7 separate regions of the Homo sapiens genome follow, and regions 1, 2, 3, 5, 6 and 7 are each linked to region 4. Evidence: promoter capture Hi-C in 16 types of primary human blood cells and fetal thymus (Javierre and others, 2016). All regions are on one chromosome and are shown on one strand. The core of a region is centred on a gene start or on the middle of the fragment in contact, and the rest is flanking DNA. Distances in the headings are between cores, read along the strand shown. Region 1 overlaps DPY19L3-DT (DPY19L3 divergent transcript). Region 2 overlaps CEP89 (centrosomal protein 89). Region 3 overlaps GPATCH1 (G-patch domain containing 1). Region 4 holds the start of ANKRD27 (ankyrin repeat domain 27). Region 5 holds the start of GPATCH1 (G-patch domain containing 1). Region 6 holds the start of WDR88 (WD repeat domain 88). Region 7 overlaps ZNF507 (zinc finger protein 507).

Region 1 (2,700 bases), core at 81-2,580, 270 kb before region 4:
CCCAAGATCTCTTATGCCGCCATCTGAAGGCTGACCTGTAGCTGGCCGATCTATTAGGTTGGTGCAAAAGTAATCTTGGTTTTTGCCATTACTTTTAATGTCCCACCAACCTAATACTTCCAAGATGGCTCACTCCCATGGCTGCCAAGGTGGTGCAGGCTGTTGCCTACGTGGCCTTCTCTACAGGCAGTTTGAGTGTCCTCACTACATGGTGGCTGGCATCCCCGCTAAGTGAGCAATCCAAGAGAGGCTAAGGCTGAAACTGGGATGTCTTTTATGACTTAGCCTCAGAAGTCCCACACTGTCACTTCCACGGTATTCTGTTGTTCACAAAGAAAAACCATGATTCTGTGGAACCGGATACTGTATGAGGATAAACATGAGGCAGCACAGATCGTGTAAGCTGAGGTCTAAAGGCTGAAGAGTACCTAGTCAATTAAAGAGGGTTTAAGACTTTTTATAAGCCACGTGACAAACCTCTGACAGAGGTTTATGTGAATAGAAAGTGAAGGAGAGGTTGAAGAGGGAAACAGAGCCTGATTCGTGGCAGTCCTTACAAGCTGTGTCATGGAGCTTAATTTTTATAATAAAGCCAAAACGCCTCCAAGGGATTTATATTTTAGTAAGATCACTATGGTTATTACATACAGGTAAATGGACTACGGTGGTGGCAACAGAGATGAGCAAAGTGAACAAGATCTGAGGTATTTACGAGATAAATGCCAACAGGACTCAATGGATGATTGGATGTGTGGATTACACAATAGAGAGGAATCAAGGATGGCTTCTAGGCTCTTGATTTGAGCAATAAGGTAAATGGAGCACACAGAAGGAACCGCAAGTGTGGGGATTAGAAAAAGGTTTAACATGTTGAGTTTGAGGTGTTTACACACATGGAAATGTCCAATAGGCAGTGGACATATGGCACCTGGAGACCAGGAGATACACCTGGACATAAAAACAGGAGTTATCAGAGTATCAGTGGAAATCAGATCCACGGGCCACAGAATCATTGATTTTTAAGAGGAAGAGGAGGCCAGGCATGGTGGCTCATGCCTGTAATCCCAACAATTTGGAAGGCTGAGGCAAGAGGATCGCTGCAGCCCAGGAGTTTGAGACCAGCCTGGGCAACAGAGAGACCCCCTGCCACCCCCAATCTTTACAAAAAAATTTTTAAAAAATTAGTCAGGCATGGTGGTGCATGCCTGTAACCTAGCTATTCTGGAAGATGAGATGGGAGGATTGCTTGAGCCTTTGAGAGCAAGGCTGCACTGAGCCATGATTCAGCCACTGCACTCTAGGCTGGATGACACAGTAAGTCCTCTTTCCAAAAAGGGAGAAGGGAGGAGAAGAAGAAAGAAGAGAGGAGGAGGAGGAAGAACAGGAGGAAGAGGAAGAAGAAGGAAGAGGAAGAAAGAAGAAAAGAAGAAAGAAGAGAAAGAGAAGGGAGGAGGGAGGAGGAGTAGCTGCATGAAACTTAAAAGGAATGCCTGAAAGGTAGACAGAGGAAACACGCACAGTCTGTTGTCACAGAAGGCAGGAATGATGGAGAGTGTTTATACTAAGTCAAACAATTGAAAAATGAACACTGGGCTGGGCGCAGTGGAGGACACCTGTAATCCCAGCACTTTGGGAGGCCAAGGCAGGTGGATGACTTGAGATCAGAAGTTTGAGACCAGCCTGGCCAACATGGTGAAGCTCTGTCTCTACTAAACATACAAAAATTAACCGGGCGTGGTGGCCAGCACGTGATGCCAGCTACTCAGGAGGCTGAGACAGGAGAATCGTTTCAATCCGGGAGACGGAGGTTGCAGTGAGCCGAAATCACCCCACTGCACACCAGCCTGGGTGACAAAGTTAGACTCTACCTCAAAAAGTTAAAATAAATAAAATTTTTAAAATGGACATCATGTATCAGACAGGAAAAAGCCAGTAAGACGGAAGAACTCACACCCTCGGGATCCCAAGACAAGATACTTCCATGGGATGGATGTAATGAACAGTGTTAAAAGATTTCTGGTGCAGTGCTTCTCAAAGTGTGATGTACACATAAATGACCTGGGGGTCATATTAAAATGCAGATTTTGGCTACACAGGTCTTGGGTAGGACCTGAGACCTGGCTTTTCTCAGAAGACCCCAGGTGATGCCCATGCTGCACAGCCCACAGACCACATGTTGAGTAACAAGGTTCTGCTGTGGTTCCCAAACTTTTCCGAGCACAGAATTATCTGGAAAACTTCTGTACTAGTCCATACAGCTATACATACTGCTATAAAGGATACTGCTACAAAGAATGCCCAAGACTGGGTAATTTATAAAGGAAAGAAGTTTAATTGACTCACAGTTCAGCATGGCTGGGGAAGCCTCAGAAAACTTACAAACATGGCAGAAGGCAAAGGGGGAAGCAAGGCACTTTCCTCACAAGGAGGCAGGAAGAAGTGCTGAGCGAAGAGGCAAGATCCCCTTATAAAACCATCACATCTTGTGAGAACTCACTATCATGAGAACAGCATGGGGGAAGCTGCCTCCATAATTCAATTACCTCCACCTGGTCTCTCCCTTGAAAGGTGGGGATTATGGGAATTACAATTCAAGATGAGATTTGGGTGTGGACATAAAGCCTAACCATATCAACTTCTTAAAGATTAGTGGTCCCCTAGCCCTACAGATTCTAAATTGAGTAGGCGTGGGGTAGGGCC
Region 2 (2,783 bases), core at 35-2,534, 270 kb after region 4:
TGCAATCCCTCCCAACCACCACCTGTGTGCCAGGTGCACGTTCCCAAGTATGTGGGTGGCCACGGCCTCTCATCTCCAAATCCACCTTCATGGCCAGCTCATGTTACTGCAGCATTTCCACCCAGCCAGTTGGTACCATGGAAGGCTTCCTCTGTAGAGGGTGCTGGAGAGACGCTGGAGGAGCTGGGGCTTTGCTTTCTGATTCCAGCTTCCTCTGGCTCTTCCTTCCATGCATTAATTTCTTTTTTTAATTTCTGGTTTTAGAGTCCAAGGGTCTCACTATATTACCCAGGCTGGATTCGAACTCCCAGGCTCAAGTAATCTTCCCGCCTTGGCCTCCCAAGGAGCTGGGATTACAAATGGGATTTCATGCGCAGATCCTTTCTTTAATTTTTTGGGTGGCCAGCAACATGCAGTACCTCCCCATGGTGGCTTCTCCTGGCCCCCTATCCCAGTGAGTTTCATTAGGGCAGCCCCTCAGCAAACTTCTTGGCCACCCGGCAGGCCACAGCTACATCCTCTCCAGGAAGGTGTGGATCTTGGGTTCTGGCTGAGGCTCCTCCAGAGCTGCTTCCTCCTGAAGCATCAGCCCTAGGAGCAGTGGCTGCTCCCCTGAGCTGCTACTCCTGAATTCTTCAGTATTCTCTTTACTCCTTAGTAGGCAATCCTGTTGTTATTATTATTATTATTTTTAGAGACAGGGTCTCACTCTGTCACCTAGGCTGGAGTGCAATGGCACTATCACATCTCACTGCAGCCCTGACCTCCTTCCTGGGCTCAAGTGATCCTCCCATCTCAGCCTCCTGCATAGCTGGGACTACAGGTGTGAGCCACCATGCGCAGCTCCCAAACCTGTTATTATTAATCATTCTTTATAGTAAATTTTCCCTCTTCAAGTCATTGTGTGTGTTCTGACTCCTGATTGGACCTTGACTGATATATGCTACATCAGGCCACACAATGCAGATGTTACACAAGGCAGGAGAGAACCAAATCTGGGGACATAGAAAGACATTTGGCATGTGTTGTGAGATGAAAGAAAGGTAACAAAACAGCATGCACTTTATATACATATACTCTCTAAATTGTTAAAAATCTTATCTGTGGGAGCACAATTAAGTGTGTTTAGCTTTATGATATGGTCTGGCTGTGTCCCCACTCACATCTCATCTTGAATTGTAGCTCCCATAATTCCCTCATATTGTCGGAGGGACCCAGTGGGAGATAATTGAATCATGGGGCGGTTTCCCCCATACTGTTCTCGTGGTAGTGAATAAGTCTCATGAAATCTGATGGTTTTATAAGGGGAAACCCCTTTCTCTTGGTTCTCATTCTCTCTTGTCTGCTTCCATGTAAGATGTGCCTTTCACCTTCTGCCATGACTGTGAGGCCTCCCCAGCCACGGGGAACTATGAGTCCATTAAACTTCTTTTTCTTGATAAGTTACCCAGTCTTGGGTATGTCTTTATCAGCAGCGTGAAAACGGACTAATGCACTTTATATATTTATGTATTTTTTTTACAGTGAGACAGTATTACTTTTGTAATTTAAAAAGAGATGCACCTTTTACATAAATCTAATATTTAAAAAATACGCCAACTGACCAACAGGTGTTTTCTGGCCCCAGGATTATGAGGCTGGCATTCTGTGTTCCCTGAGAAATGATTTACAGAAACGTTTCCCTGAGCCCGAGCAACTCTAGGGCTGCTGATAAAGTAGTTATTGGTTGTCCACTTGATGCCTGGCTCTCCTTGTCACTTCTCAAATGTGAGCCACCTCTTAGGAAACTGAAAACTTTTCCCTACCTTTGTTATAACATGCTGAATTCTCTCATTGGGATAATCAAATAGATATATGTCCACGTACTCATTCACCCAACAGATCTTTCCTAGTGGGCCACTGTGGGCCAGGTCTTTCCCCAAGCACTGGGACTAGGGAGACCCTATCCTATCCCTACCTCTATTGCTTAAACCCAGGAGTTCAAGACCAGCCTAGTTAACATGGCAAAAAAAAACAGCACCTTGTACTTTAAAAACAACCTAATATCCAGAAGCAATTGACTGCAGAATAACTTTTCCTTTTTTTTTGAGATGGGGTTTCACTCTGTCACTCAGGCTGGGGTACAATGGTGCGATCTCAGCTCACTGCAGCCTCTGCCTCCAGGGCTCAAGCAATCCTCCCACCTCAGCCTCCTGACTAGCTAGGACCACAGGTACATGCCACCATACCTGGCTACTTTTTTGTATTCTGGTAGAGATGGGATGTCCATTTTTTGTAGAGAGAGTCTATGTTGCCCAAGCTGGTCTCAAACTCCTAAGCTCAAGAGATCTACCCACCTTGGCCTCCCAAAGTACTGGGATTACAGGAGCGAGCCACCACACCCAGCCTTATTTTCTTGAGACAGGGTCTCATTCTGTCACCCAGGCTGGAATGCAATGGTGCAATCATGGCTTGCTGCAGCCCTGACCTTCCGAGCTCAAGTGATCCTCCCACCTCGCCCTTCTGAGTAGCTGGGACTGTAGGCGTGCACCACCTTGCCTGGCTGATGTTTTTATTTTTACTTTTTGTACAGACGATGTCTCCCTGTGTTGCCCAGGCTGCTTTCAAATTCTTGAGCTCAAGGGATCCTCCAGCCTTGGCCTTCCAAAGTGCTAGGATTACAGGCGTGAGCCACCACACCTGGACCCTCATTTTCAATAAAAAATAAATTTCAATTATATTCCTAGTTAAAATCACAGAGCTACAGCATGAAGGGGCAATGGGTATGTTTTCCTAAAAATAAG
Region 3 (2,808 bases), core at 218-2,717, 430 kb after region 4:
GAAAGTCTGAAAGGGATGAATGTGTCTGAAAGTCTGGAAAGACATGGAGAATCCCCTGCAGGGTGCAGCAGGAAAGTCCCACCATGAGAGGTGGACTTGGACTCTTAGGGGCTCGGGTCTCACTGCCATGGGGAACTCAATAGGTGTCTCGTATAATTGGCAAACAGAACCCTTGGTTCCCCACCCCCATCACACACTGCGCTTCCTCATCTAAGTCTTCTCATCTCAGGAAGTGGTGCCACCATGATCCACTGCTCGGACCAGGATGTAGGAGGCCTAATTCTTTTTTTTTTCTTAATTTTTAATTTTTATTTTTTTTTATTATACTTTAAGTTCTAGGGTACATGTGCACAACGTGCAGGTTTGTTACATGTGTATACATGTGCCACGTTCGTGTGCTGCACCTATTAACTCGTCATTTACATAAGGTATATCTCCTAATGCTATCCCTCCCCGCTTCCCCGGGAGGCCTAATTCTTAGCTCCTCTCTTTTCGGTCCTCCCGCACCCTCCCTGACCCTCCTTGGCCCTTAGTGAGTCCTCTCGGCTCTACCCACACGTGTGGGGGTTCTGTCCACTACTCATCTGCATTTCCGTGGCCTCCCGGGTCTGAGCCCCACCCCTCCACCTGGACCGTTGCTGCAGTCTCCTTGGTGGTCTCCTTGTTTCCTGTCCATCTCCCGTAGACTGTTCCCCTCACCAGCAGCTGGATGAGGCCAACTATACCAGCCAACACCTCTCCCACCTACAGAAACCTCCAGGCTCCCCACGAGGCCCTGTGCGGCCCCGCCCCTGCCCGCCTTTCAGGCTGCACCATCCACCACCTTCCCTTACCCTCCCACAGTGTAGCGTCTTCCTCCTCCTTTCCTCCCCTGGAACACGCCGTCATCCATGACACTGCCTAAGGGCCTTTGTGTTTGCTGTACCTCCCTTTCTGTTCTTCCCTCATATTTTTGTGAATCTGGCTCTTTTTTTTTTTAGCTTATGACTTATCTCGAATGTTACTTTCTTCCAGCCTTCCCCGACCACCATATAATCTGGTTATCTGCCTGTCCCCTCTACCAGCCCGCTCACACAAGCCCCCCTCAGTCACATCGTCCTGTTTTTTTCATAGCCCTCCTCTATTGAGGGCCAGCGTATTGCTCCTGGGCTTCTTTCGTGTCTCCACTGCCCTCCAAGCTCCTGGGCCAGGTCCTGGCATAGAGCTGGCACTCATGAGTGTTTGTCCCATTGGTGAGGGCTTGCTGGGGAGCTGTACTCGGAACCAGGGCTAGTGGTGGTGGACTGCAGGTCTGGAGCCGGGGATGTCAGGTTCCCCATCCTGGAATCACTCACGTGCCCTGTAAGTGTGCATGTATTAACTTCCATTTTTGCTGACTATAAAACAGGAATCTTGGCTGGACACAGTGGCTCATGCCTGTAGTCCCAGAACTTTGGGAGGCCAAGGTGGGATGATCTCTTGAGCCCAGGAGTTGAGACCAGCTTGGGAAACATGGCGTAATCCCGTCTACAAAAAATACAAAAAGTAGTCGGGCATGGTGGTGTGTACCTGTGGTCCCAGCTACTCAGGAGGCTGAGGTGGGAGGATCACTTGAGCCTGAGAGGTGGAGGTTGCAGTGAGCCATGATCACACCACCGTACTCCAGTCCAGGTGACACAGCGAGACCATGTCTCAAAAAAAACATAGGAATTGGCCAGGCGTGGTGGCTCACGCCTGTAATCCCAGCACTTTGGGAGGCCGAGGCGGGTGGATCACCTGAGGTCAGGAGTTTGAGACCAACCTGGCCGACATGATGAGACCCTGTCTCTACTAAAAATATAAAAAATTAGCCAGGCATTGTGGCACATGCCTGTAGTCCCGGCTACTCGGTGGGGATGAGACAGGAGAATTGCTTGAACCCAGGAGGTTGCAGTGAGCTGAGATGGTACCATTGCACTCCAGGCTGGGCAATAGAGCGAGACTCCATCTAAAATAATAATAATAATAAGAAGAAGAATCTCAATTTTTATCACTGTCTAGTCCACAGGGACATATTAATATAAATGAAACACTAAACATAAAATCCTCATCCCCAATTATGTAAATTTGTGTTATTGAAATGTATGTACAGAGAAACGTAAATGTGGTTGTCTCATGGCTCTTTTCATCTCTTCTAATTACTGTTTTTATTTAGGTTCAGCTACTTCAGTGTTAGAATTTCTGTCCCAAAAAGACAAAGAGAGAATCAAAGAAATGAAGCAGGCAACTGACCTGAAAGCAGCTCAGCTCAAGGCCAGGAGTCTGGCCCAGAACGCTCAGAGCAGCAGAGCCCAGCTCTCCCCTGCAGCGGCTGCTGGGCACTGCTCTTGGAACATGGCATTAGGTGGTGGGACGGCCACCTTAAAAGCCAGCAACTTCAAGCCTTTCGCCAAAGATCCGGAAAAGCAAAAGCGATACGACGAGTTCTTAGTACACATGAAACAGGGTCAGAAAGGTGGGTGCTGGGCCTGGGTGTCCCAAATCTCGGCCCGGGCGGGGTCATATTCTCACTGTTCTCATCCTAGACCCATATTTACAGTTGAGGTATCCTGTTCTGTCAGTGTTTTTGCTTTATCCTGCTGCAAATAGTGCAAAGGTTTCAGGCCTTGGCTCTTGACCTCAGAAAGCAAGAACAGTTGGCTTATGTTCCTCCATATCTCAGGCCAAAGCTAGCTGTTTAAGTAGAGAACACAGCTGGCGGTGGCCGGTACTTACAGGCCGTTTGGTGTTTGCAAGTGCTTGACTGCTACAAGCATTGCATTCACATTTCATATCAGCATCATCTTCCAC
Region 4 (2,700 bases), core at 181-2,680:
AAAGGACGGACCCCTGGGTGACAGCAGGCCCCGGGGCTCAGTACACCGGACCCTTAGGCCACCTCAACACCAGTCCTCATGCCAGGCTGATCTCGAAACGTAACAGCTACTGCTCAGCAAAACGTGGTGGCTAGTGCCTGTAATCCCAACACCTTGGGAGGCCAAGACGAGAGCATGGCTTGAGTCCAGGAGTTCAAGACCAGCCTAGGCAACCTGCTAGACTCCATCTCTACAAAAAAAAAAAAAAAAAATTAAAAATTAGCCGTGCATAGTGGCATGCGCCTGTAGTCCCAGCTACTACAGAGGCTGAGGTGAAAGGATTGCTTGAGTCCAGGAGTTTGAGGCTGCAATGAGCTATGATGGCATCACTGCACTCCAGACTAGCCAACAGAGCCAGACCCTGTCTCAAAAAGAAAAAAACGAAAAGAAAGAAAAGAAAAAAAATATCCACTGCTCTACTCTTCGGCCAGTGGGAAGAGTGCATTTTTTAATCAAAATAGGGGCCTCTATCCATGAAACCCATCAACTTGTAAAATCTGAGCTCTCTGCAGCCTCACAGTCCCTCCAGCACTGCCAGCAGCCCTCGTTCCCTGCATGCTCTAAATCCTCAGCGAAGACCCGTCCCTTGCTCCCTCGCCCAGCACAGGCCGCGAGTGCCCACGTCCCCTGCACCTCGTGGGGCAGCCAAGGGGGCACCGCGTGGCTCGTGTGCTCCTGGGCAGTCCATTTTCAACCACAAGACGGAACAGACTCAGAATCCGGAACATCTCTCGGTGCTTAAGAGTTTTCCTTTAACAATCTTTACCTGTGGGAATGCAGAGACCCCCCCGCCCTGCGAGAGGCCGGCAGCCAGGGATTCCCCGCTCCGCGCCCTCATCACCCCCCGGAAACCACAACCGCTGCGCGCGCGGCTCGGACCCCCACCCGCCGCTCCCCTCCAGCAGACCCTAGGCCTCCGGGAAACCGCGCGGCGACCGCCCCGCGCCCCGCCAGATCCGAACCGCCGGACCCGGCACCCCGGCCACACCCGCCGGTGTCGACGCAGCGAGGCTCGGAGGGTGCATTCTCCGCGCCGACCGCTCCCCTCCTCCAGACCCGAGGGGCGGAGTGGGCAGGGCGCGCCGGCTGCGCACCGGGCACCCACCTGGGGACGCGGGGGCTGGGGCGGCGCGGGGCCACCTGGCGGACCCGGGAGCGGACTCCGGAGAGCAGGGAGCCCCTCCCCCCTCACTCTCCGGGCCCCGCCCGGCCGCCGCGCCCCGAGGCGCAGCCATCCCGCGGGAGGGGAGGCGCAGGAGGAGGCCAGCGCGAGGACACTTACTTAAAAGGCTACATCGCTTCATTCCCAGCCCATCCTGGGCGACGGCGGCACCTCCCTCGTCCGCTGCTGGGACCTCGATGCCCACCACCCTCGCGCGGCGATCTGGCCCTATAGCCCACCCCTTACTCCGCCGTGGGGCGGAGCCGCGCCACAGCTGACCCAATGAGAAACCGTCGTTTCCCAGAGTGACGTGTACGCAGAGCAATCATGGAGTCCAGCCCAGCCGGGGGCGGGGCTCAGGCGGCTCCCTACGCTTCCTACTCCAGCTGGCCCCGCCCCACGCCCGCAACTGCGCGTGCCCAGAACGTGAGGGGCGGGGCTGGGAGCCGGGCTGACACTAGAGGTGGGGTTAGCGCTTGGAAGCACCGACCAACGTGAGCGCAACGCGGCAGGGACACCTGACCCCGGCGGCGCCCAGCCCCTCGGATTGCCAGTCACTGCTCGCTTTGGGGCACGGAGGTGCCCAGTCCTGCGGGGCACCCGACGTCCTGTCGCCGACAGGGTCCGGGAGTCAGTATAGCTGGGTTCTAGTCCCATCACAGGCAAAAACTCCGCGGGAGCCTGGCCCGCTTTTTACCTGGGCCTCAGTTTCCCCATCCGTAAAATAGAACGGGTTGGATCTCCCGAGCGCTAACATTCCAGAACTCGGATGGGGCGAAGGGGAGGGAGGGATGGGCCACCCACACGTGACCTCCCCGCGTGGAGCCCCGCCTACCACTGATCCAGGGGGTGGCAGCTCCGGCCGGGACGAGCGGGGTGGGCGGGTCCTAGGAAACCCTACCCGGCCGCCCTTGGCAGCGCCTAAGGCGGAGCGCGCGGCTCTGCAGCCTGCTTGCCCCGGAGTTGGCACCCACGGAGGATGGGGACCGCACCCTCAGCTTCGCAGGGAGCCACCGTGGAGGCCAGGGCGGTGCAGAGACACGACGTGTGACTCGGAGTGCGCCTGGGGAGGATGGACGAGGGAGCGGGGGACCGCTAACGGGGCTCCCTCTGCGCGCCCCGTCCGCAGAGGCGCACGTCGAGGGTCCCGGGCGGGCTCCGTGGACGTTGGCGGTAGCGCCGAGCGAGTCACGGACCATGAAGAGCGTTCGTGCCGCGCGGCCCAAGGCCGGGATGGGGGTTAGCCACATCCTGCCGCGCTGAGGGGGAGGCTAACGGGCGCGGGCGGCCGGGCCCAGCCGGAGCCCACCGCGATGGCGAGGGAGGAGTGCAAGGCGCTGCTGGACGGGCTCAACAAGACGACTGCGTGCTACCACCACCTGGTGCTGACCGTCGGTGGCTCGGCGGACTCGCAGAACCTGCGGCAGGAGCTGCAAAAGACGCGCCAGAAGGCGCAGGAGCTGGCGGTGTCCACCTGCGCCCGGCTGACTGCTGTGCTG
Region 5 (2,700 bases), core at 50-2,549, 410 kb after region 4:
GGCCGAGGCGGGTGGATCACTTGAGGTCAGGAGTTCAAGACCAGCCTGGCCAACATGGTGAAACCCAGTCTCTACTAAAAATACAAAAAAAAAAAAAAAAAAAAAAAAAAATGGCCGGGTGCGGTGGCTCACATCTGTAATCCCAGCACTTTGGGAGGCCAAGGTGGATGGATCGCCTGAGGTGGGGAGTTCGAGACCAGCCTGACCAACATGGACAAACCCCGTCTCTACTAAAAAAAAAATTACAAAATTAGCCAGACATAGTGGTGCATGCCTGTAATCCCACCTACTAGGGAGGCTGAGGCAGGAGAATCGCTTGAACCCGGGAGGCGGAGGTTGAGGTGAGCCGAGATCGTGCCATTGCACTCCAGCCTGGGCAACAAGAGTGAAACTCTGTCTCAAGAAAAAAAAAAAAAAAACCACCACAACAACCAACCAACCAAACAAACAAAAATTTAGCAGGGCGTGGTGGGGTGGACGCTTATAATCCCAGCTATCAGGAGGCTGAGGCAGGAGAATCACTTGAATCTGGGAGGCGGAGGTTGCAGTGAGCTGAGATCGCGGCCACTGCACTCCAGCCTGGGCGACAGAGCGAGACTCTGTCTCAAAAAAAAAAAAAAAAAAAAAGGGAATAACACCAGGGCCTACTTGAGGGTGGACCTACTTGAGGGTGGAAGGTACGAGGAGGGTGAGGATCGGAAAAACTACCTATTGGGTACTATGCTTATTACCTGGGGAGGAAATAATCTGTAACCCAAATCCCTTGCGACATGCAATTTACCTATATAACAAACTTGCACATGTACCCCTGAACCCAAAATAAAAGTAAAAAATAATAATAATAAAAATAAAGCGAAGCCCCACGGGGCGAGCATGAAATCTGGGAGCTCAGCCATTTCCCTGGAGGTGGCTGGGTGGGCGGTGGGAGTGGACGGGGCTGGGCAGTGACTGCTGCCAAGGCAGGGGGCTGGCGCGAGGGACGGGGGTAGGGGGCTGGGCAGGCATCGGTGTCGCCTCGCAGGGAACAGTTGGGTGGCTTCCAGCTTATGCCAGGAGTCTCCTCCTCACCCGCACATCGCGGGGCTAGGATGGGATGTCGTGGCTGCCAAATCCTCCGAGGCAACTCCTGCCTGGGACGGCCTACCACAGGATGGGCCTGAGAATCCGGAGCGCAGGCTCGGGCCGCTAGGACACCTTCCCCCGCCCGCGGACCCAGCCTTCCAGCATCACCGGGGTTCGCGGAGGAGAAAGAGGAAAGGCGTTTGGCCTGCCAAGGCCGCCGTAGCGAGGGGGCGGGGCCCGGAAGAGCAGGATGGCGGCGCGGGACAGTGACAGCGAAGAAGATCTGGTCAGCTATGGGACCGGGCTGGAGCCTCTGGAAGAAGGTGCGGGCCGCGTGGGCCGGCGGAGCCTGTGGAAAACAGGCCAAGGGCCCAGGATTCGGGCCACAAAAGCACAAGTCGGTGCTGGACCATTGTTAGATCGTTCCCAGCGCTGGGAACACGGCGACGAGGGAGGCGTTAGCCGCGCTCTCGGGGTGCTCACCTTCTGCAGCGACAGAGAGAGGTTTACAGGGACGGGAGACACAAGCGTGGCCGAACAAGGGGGCGGCGAGATAGAAACAAGAAAATGACGGAATAGCTAGTGTGAGAGCGGGGGGTGCTCAGGCAGTGTCTTCCCCGAGAGAGGACGTTTGAGCTCAGACTTGAAACCGAGGAAGAAAACAACCATGAGCAAATCTGGAGGGAAAGCATTTCAGGCAGAAGGAACATAAAGTGGCAAAGGCCCTGAAGTGGGAGCCAGTTTAGGAAATTGAGGGGCAGGCAGGACGGGTATGGTTGCAGCAGATGACAGCGGGGGAGACAGGTAGAAAAGAATGTCAGAGGGGCTGACAGGGGCTGGATCTTACTTGGTAGGGTAAAGAGTTTGGATCTTGTACTAAGTGCAGGATTAGGGTTAGGGTTAGGGTCATGGGAAATTACACAGGGAGGGATATATATATGATTTTTAGAGACAGGGTTTTGCTCTGTTTCCCAGGCTGGTCTTGAACTCCTGACTTCAAGTGATCCTCTCGCTTCTGCCTCCCAAAGTGCAGGGATTACAGGCTTGAGCCACTGTGCTCGGCCAATTTTTAATGTTATTCTATCTTTGATGTTGAGAATACACTGGTTGGGGATGGGTAAGAGTGAAGCAGGGAGATTAGCAAAAAGAGGTCAGGAGATGATGGTGGCATGGATGGGACAGCAGTGGTGGTGGTGTGTAGTGGTCTGGGTGGAGATATATTTTGAAAGCAGAGCTGACCATACTTGCTGGTGGAATGTGGGGGTGAGGGGCAAGATGAATCAAGGTTCTCTCCTGTGTTTCTGGTCTGTTCCACTTAACGACTTGACTTGTTCAGCAAGTTATGTATTGAGTGTCCAGTAAGGGCTGTTGGCTGTGCTAGCCCTGTAGGGAAGGCAGAGGAAGAATGGTGGAATCATTGGGCCACAATTTATTTGCAGACCTCCTGTTGGTGGGGGTCCCCTCCCTTTTTTCACCCTGACCACATCCTGCCAGGTTGATTGTACTTCTGGGATATCTCCACTTATGCCCCCTTTATTTCCTACAAACAGTTCTGGTGGAAACTTCTGCTGGATACTGGCCCTTCTTCTACCCTCGGCTTACAAAAGGTTGAGAAAGGGGCCAGGCACAGTGGTTCAC
Region 6 (2,700 bases), core at 142-2,641, 460 kb after region 4:
CACAGCCTGGGTTACACGGCTGCAGCTCCCTGCTCTGAGGCCACCTCATGTGTACCAAGGAGACCTTTTTGAAAAATAAAGTGCAGACCAGGTGTGATGGCTAATGCCTGTAATCCCAGAGCTTTGGGAGGCCGAGGCGGGAGGATTGCTTGAGCCCAGGAATTCCAGACCAGCCTGGGCCACATAGAGACCCCTGTCTCCACAAAAAATAAAGTATTGAGCATTTGTATTTTACATTATGAAAGTAGCATCATAGATCACAACAATTTTAAAAGCAGAAAGAAGGAAGAGGCCGGGTGCGGTGGCCCATGCTTGTAATCCCAGCACTTTGGGAGGCCGAGGCCAGCGGATCACTTGAGGCCAGGAGTTCAAAAACAGCCTGGCCAACATGGCGAAACCTTGTCTCTACTAAAAATACAAAAAAATTAGCCAGGTCTGGTGAGCATACACCTGTAATCCCAGCTGTGTGGGAGGCTGAGGCACGAGAATCCTTTGAACCCTGGAGGTGGAGGTTGCAGTGAGCCGAAATTGCGCTACTGCAATCCAGCCTGGGTGACAGACTCTTGTCTCCACCAAAAAAAAAAAAAAAAAAAAAGAAGGAAGAAAATCACTTTTAGTTTTATCATCCAAAGATGACACCCTTCTTCAATATTTTGAATAATTCCACCCTGTCCTTTTCTAGCTATGGGGCTGTTATCTGACTGGTGGTAGCATTTTATTCCCTGTCACTGTTGTTGGGGTTGTGACAGATATTTCCCTCATCTATTATAAATGTTGTAAACCCACCCCTAATAACTGCATCTTATTTCATGCAGGGGCTACCCCATAACTTACTGACCTTTTCTGTTTTGTCATGAAGTGGGTTGGCCAGGAGCTGTACCCAGGCAGAGGACATGAAGAAATTGCCCTGTGACAGGAGCCAGGGAAACCACAGCGGAGGGCTGGAGGCTGGGGTGCTGGTTTTGCTGGCTCGGCCTGGTTCCCAGAATGCAAAGCCCATTTTTCTTTTTTTTGCAACCTCCACCTCCTGGGTTCAAGCCATTCCCCTGCCTCAGCCTCCCATGTAGCTGGAACTACAGGCGCACGCCCCCATGCCTGGCTAATTTTTGTTATTATTTTTTTTAAGTAAAGATGGGGTTTCACTAAACCTGTTGGCCAGGCTGGTCTCCAACTCCTGACCTCAGGTAATCCGCCCGCCTCGGCCTCCCAAAGTGCCGGGATTACAGGCGTGAGCCACCGCGCCCGGCTGCAAAGCCCATTTTTCTATAGGTAACCTGTGCTGCGCGGGGTGGCACTAGTTTTCACCCAGCGGGCGAGGAGGCAGCGAAGTCGCGGGCCCAGCGTAGCGCGCGCCTCCGAAGGGCTTGGTGCGGGCGCGGGCGCGGGCGCGCGGCGCCACCGTTCCCATCCAGGCTTGTCGGCGGCCACCGGCGGACCGGGCTTCGAGATGGCCTCCCCGCCGCGGTGCTCCCCGACAGCCCATGACAGGGAATGCAAGTTGCCGCCACCCTCCGCCCCCGCCAGCGAGTATTGTCCCGGCAAGCTGTCCTGGGGGACCATGGCGAGGGCCTTAGGCCGCTTCAAGCTGTCGATCCCGCACACGCACCTGCTGGCCACCCTCGACCCCCTGGCCTTGGACAGGGAACCACCACCGCATCTGTTGCCTGAGAAGCACCAGGTGCCGGAGAAATTGATCTGGGGCGACCAGGACCCTCTCTCCAAGGTCAGAACCGCCGCTGGGGTGAGGGGGCACTGGCCTGTTCCCCACACGGGAGGAAGGCGCTCGAGCTGTCGGGGGACCCATGGAAAACCCACCTGGCTTCACCAGGACCCCCAGCGAGGCCCTAGGCCCATTTCCCCATCTGTGGTACATCTGTGGGCAAAGGTCAGACCCACCTGAGCAGGGCGTGCTGGGGATGCCGGCGGGGGCTCCCCGCACTGCCACCTGCTGGGGAACCAGGACTCTTCGCTGGGAGGAGGCTCTGCCCCACCATGTGACCCCATCTAGACCTTGGAGTCTCCGTAGGTAGGCCCACCCACAGTGATGCTCCTAATTGCAGCCCAAGGGTCGGTGGCTCAGCTCTCCCCGTCCAGGAGATACAGTTAGCGTCAGAAGAAACGGGAAACTCAGAATAATAATAACAACAATGAATTGGGCCAGGCAAGGTGGCTCACACCTGTAATCCCAGCCCTTTGGGAGGCCCAGGTGGGAGGATCACTTGAGCCCAGGAGTTTGAGACCAGCCTGGGCAACATAGTGAGAGGTCGTCTCTACAAGAAATAAACTTAGCCCAGTGTGATGGGGCGCACCTGTGGTCCCAGCCACTTGAAAGGCTGAGGCAAGAGGATCCCTTGAACCCAGGAGTTTAAGGCTGCAGTGAGCTATGATTGTGCCACTGCACTCCAGCCTGGGCAACAGAGCGAGACTGTCTCCAGAATAAATAAATAAATAAATAAATAAATAAATAAATAAATATAGAGAGAGAGAGAGAAAGAAAGAAAGAAAAAGAAAAAGAAAGAAAGAAGGAGAAAGAAAGAAAAACTGGCTGGGTGCAGTGGCTCATGTCTGTAATCCCAGCACTTTGGGAAGCCGAGATGAGCAGATCACTTGAGGTCAAGGGTTCGAGACCAGCCTGGCTAACATGGTGAAACCCTTTCTCTACTAAAAATGCAAAAATTAGCCAGGCATGGTGGTGCGTGC
Region 7 (2,742 bases), core at 160-2,659, 310 kb before region 4:
AGTTCATTATGACTTAGAATATTGTACATGGTTATGCAGGAATCATCCCAACCTATCTGTGTTTATAGGTCAGATGATGTTCAGTTTATATCTGCTGATAGTGTATATGCAGGAAAACCTATAAAACCACTTCAGACTTGTTAAAACAGTGAGAAAGCCGTGATTGAAATATTAATACAACTGTGTGGTATAAATTTTCATTTACAATGGAATGTAAATGCTGTCATTTGAATCTTGTCAAAGCCTGCTACTAAAACTCTGAAATACCTTGTCTAGGGAATAAGTCTTCAGTCCAGAAACAATATAGATGTGATGTGTGTGATTATACAAGTACAACATATGTTGGTGTCAGAAACCACAGGCGAATCCATAACTCTGATAAGCCGTACAGGTAAGTGTTATGATTCTAGAATTTTAATGTTTGTATTAAAATATTTTATATTAAAGAAATAAAATGAAATAAAAATGTATAGCACTTACTGAAACACAGGTTAAGAAGTAAGAAATTTTCACTAATTGGTTTTATATTTTGTTGTTTTATATATTTACTTATTTATTTTTTGAGTCAGTGTCTTGCTGTATTGCCCAGGCTGGAGTGCAGTGGTATGATCACAGCTCACTGCAGCCTCGAACTCCTGGCCTCAAGGGATCCTCCCACATCAGCCTCCCAAAGTGCTGGGATTGCAGGCGTGAGCCACTGCACCTGGCTGGTATTATGTCTTGTTTGATTTGTTAAGATGTGAACTTTAAGCTTGAATCTTAGGACAGTAGGCATTTTGTCTAGTTGATACATAGGAAATTGTCTTTATCTGTCAATTTTATGTTTTCATTTCATATGGGTATAAATTTCATAGCAATTTTCAATGCCTTAGAGTTCATTTCAGTAATTTGGCAGTAAGGTACTCAGTATTCAGCAAAAGATCCTTAAAACTTAAAGGCAATAAAATTTTCTATGAAAGAGTCCATTTTTCAAAATTAAGCTAGTATGTGTAGAATAAGTCATTTAATTTCATTACTTGATTTTTCCCAAAAGCAAATTCAGATATATATTTCAGAAAATATAGGCATTCTCAGTGATAGTGCTAGGCAATGCGCATGAACTTTCACCCCCTTGTCAAAACTTAGCAGGTTTAACTCTCTCCCCAGATTCTGTAGATATGATACAAGTGAGTGTGGGAAAGTTATTGTATTAATCTCAATGAAAACCTGACAGATTGTGCCATAAAAGGTCATTGTTTAATCCCAAAGTGTGGTGATCTGTGTATGGTTTCGAATATTTAATATGTGCTTAATTTGCAAACCAGCAGACTTACTTATAATCACTCTTCAGAAAGTACATCTGTTTGCAGAGTCTTAAAACTCTGTGGAAGGTGTTTGACCTTGCCTCAGTCCTCCTCAGTGTCTTCCTTCCTTCCTTCTTTCCTTCCTTCCTTCTTTTCTTCCTTCCTTCCTTTCCTTCCTTCCTTTCCTTCCTTTCCTTCCTTCCTTTCCTTTCTTCCTTTCCTTCCTTTCCTTTCCTTCCTTTCCTTTTCTTCCCTCCCTCCCTCTCTCCCTCCCTCCTTCCTTCCTTTCCTTCCTTCGTTTCCTTCCTTCCTTTCCTTTCTTCCTTTCCTTTCTTCCTTTCCTTCCTTCCTTTCCTTCCTTTCCTTTCCCTCCCCTCCCTCCCTCCCTCCCTCCTTCCTTCCTTCCTTCCTTCCTTTTTTTCTTTGACAGAGTCTCGCTCTGTCATCACCCAGGCTGGAGTGCAGTGGAGTGATCTCACCTCACGGCAACCTCCGCCTCCCGGGTTCAAGTGATTCTCATGCCTCAGCCTCCCAAGTAGCTGGGACCACAGGCATGTGCCATGATTAGCTAATTAGAGACGGGGTTTCGCCAGGTCTTGAACTCCTGGCCTCAAGTGTCCGCCCACCTTGGCCTCCCAAAGTGCTGGGATTACATGGTTACACCATGTCCAATCAGTCTATTTAATAGGTGGGACTGAGTATATTTACATTCGTGATTTATACTGGGAAATGTTTAGGAGAATGTGATGGAAACAGGGAACACTAGTTTACCTGATAGGAGGAGAAAGCTTTGCCTTTATATTTTTGGTATCCTTGAATTTAGACATACCGTGCCAGATTCATGTGATTTAAGTAAGAAGAAAATAACATTTCTCCGGGTCCAGAATTAGATTGTTCTTTCATTCATGGAGAAATATTTATTGAGCAAATATTATGCTTCAGGGGCCGTGCTAGATTCTTGGACTACAGTCATAACAAAACAGACGTCATCTTTGCTGTCATGGAACTTGTAGACAAACAATAAGCAAGTAAACCCTCAAATACTTAGGAAAAAGGTTAGCGATTCTAGTTCTGTTGAAGGTTTTACATCTGCTTTATTAGATCAGTCTTGCAGCTTAAAGATTCATTTTGATAGCTGTCAGTGTCTCAGGGATGTTTTCTTGTGTTCTTAAAATATTCACAGATTCATAGGATTCATTGCAGTTGTCCTAGGGTCTTCCTACCAACGGGCAACATCCCGTGAGCATCCTCTTTGTGTAACATCAGAGAACTCTCAGTCTGTTATTTTCCAAATTTATTCACACTCCACTTTGTCACTGGGTTTGGTGTGGTTATGCCTTAGATACAGTTTTGTCATATCTCCCTCTTTGTACTTATTATCAGTTTTTCCTCATAAGTCTTATTTTCTAATGTCATGGCTCTCCTTTTAACTTTCTTTAAATACTCACCATCCTTTGCC

The links. Contacts are between HindIII fragments. The CHiCAGO score rates a contact against its expected background, and 5 or more counts as called.
Region 1: a fragment that was not itself captured here is called in contact with the fragment with the promoter of ANKRD27 in region 4 in 1 of 17 cell types (total B cells); the score reaches 5.4 in total B cells.
Region 2: a fragment that was not itself captured here is called in contact with the fragment with the promoter of ANKRD27 in region 4 in 4 of 17 cell types (total CD8 T cells, total CD4 T cells, non-activated CD4 T cells and 1 more); the score reaches 7.2 in total CD8 T cells.
Region 3: a fragment that was not itself captured here is called in contact with the fragment with the promoter of ANKRD27 in region 4 in 8 of 17 cell types (total CD4 T cells, fetal thymus, total CD8 T cells and 5 more); the score reaches 10.0 in total CD4 T cells.
Region 5: a contact is called between the fragment with the promoter of GPATCH1 here and the fragment with the promoter of ANKRD27 in region 4, in 10 of 17 cell types (fetal thymus, naive CD8 T cells, activated CD4 T cells and 7 more). The highest score is 16.2, in fetal thymus.
Region 6: a contact is called between the fragment with the promoter of WDR88 here and the fragment with the promoter of ANKRD27 in region 4, in 2 of 17 cell types (erythroblasts and fetal thymus). The highest score is 6.9, in erythroblasts.
Region 7: a fragment that was not itself captured here is called in contact with the fragment with the promoter of ANKRD27 in region 4 in 1 of 17 cell types (total B cells); the score reaches 7.6 in total B cells.

The regions. Positions count from the first base shown.
Region 1 is chr19:32,400,806-32,403,505 of GRCh38, forward strand. The region is part of intron 1 of DPY19L3-DT (DPY19L3 divergent transcript); the gene reads right to left. Among named protein-coding and RNA genes, the nearest start is that of DPY19L3-DT, 3.4 kb to the right of the region's middle. The HindIII fragment of the contact is 3,509 bases long and covers 1-2,700 here.
Region 2 is chr19:32,945,422-32,948,204 of GRCh38, forward strand. The region is part of intron 5 of CEP89 (centrosomal protein 89); the gene reads right to left. Among named protein-coding and RNA genes, the nearest start is that of CEP89, 25 kb to the right of the region's middle. The HindIII fragment of the contact is 3,728 bases long and covers 1-2,783 here.
Region 3 is chr19:33,107,544-33,110,351 of GRCh38, forward strand. GPATCH1 (G-patch domain containing 1) reads left to right here. Exons shown (of 20, transcript NM_018025.3): 11 at 2,174-2,473. Among named protein-coding and RNA genes, the nearest start is that of WDR88, 23 kb to the right of the region's middle. The HindIII fragment of the contact is 7,119 bases long and covers 1-2,808 here.
Region 4 is chr19:32,673,750-32,676,449 of GRCh38, forward strand. ANKRD27 (ankyrin repeat domain 27) reads right to left here and starts at 1,431. Exons shown (of 29, transcript NM_032139.3): 1 at 1,322-1,431. It overlaps RGS9BP (regulator of G protein signaling 9 binding protein), which reads left to right and starts at 2,099. Exons shown (of 1, transcript NM_207391.3): 1 at 2,099-2,700. The coding sequence starts at 2,515. RefSeq lists silencers at 916-965, 986-1,715, 2,286-2,345 and enhancers at 1,359-1,978, 1,866-1,975. The HindIII fragment of the contact is 4,511 bases long and covers 1-2,700 here.
Region 5 is chr19:33,079,882-33,082,581 of GRCh38, forward strand. It overlaps GPATCH1 (G-patch domain containing 1), which reads left to right and starts at 1,300. Exons shown (of 20, transcript NM_018025.3): 1 at 1,300-1,385. The coding sequence starts at 1,313. RefSeq lists an enhancer at 1,195-1,524. The HindIII fragment of the contact is 10,253 bases long and covers 1-2,700 here.
Region 6 is chr19:33,130,723-33,133,422 of GRCh38, forward strand. It overlaps WDR88 (WD repeat domain 88), which reads left to right and starts at 1,392. Exons shown (of 11, transcript NM_173479.4): 1 at 1,392-1,723. The coding sequence starts at 1,448. RefSeq lists an enhancer at 1,229-1,398. The HindIII fragment of the contact is 21,697 bases long and covers 1-2,700 here.
Region 7 is chr19:32,360,228-32,362,969 of GRCh38, forward strand. ZNF507 (zinc finger protein 507) reads left to right here. Exons shown (of 7, transcript NM_001136156.2): 5 at 277-391. Among named protein-coding and RNA genes, the nearest start is that of ZNF507, 16 kb to the left of the region's middle. The HindIII fragment of the contact is 1,320 bases long and covers 750-2,069 here.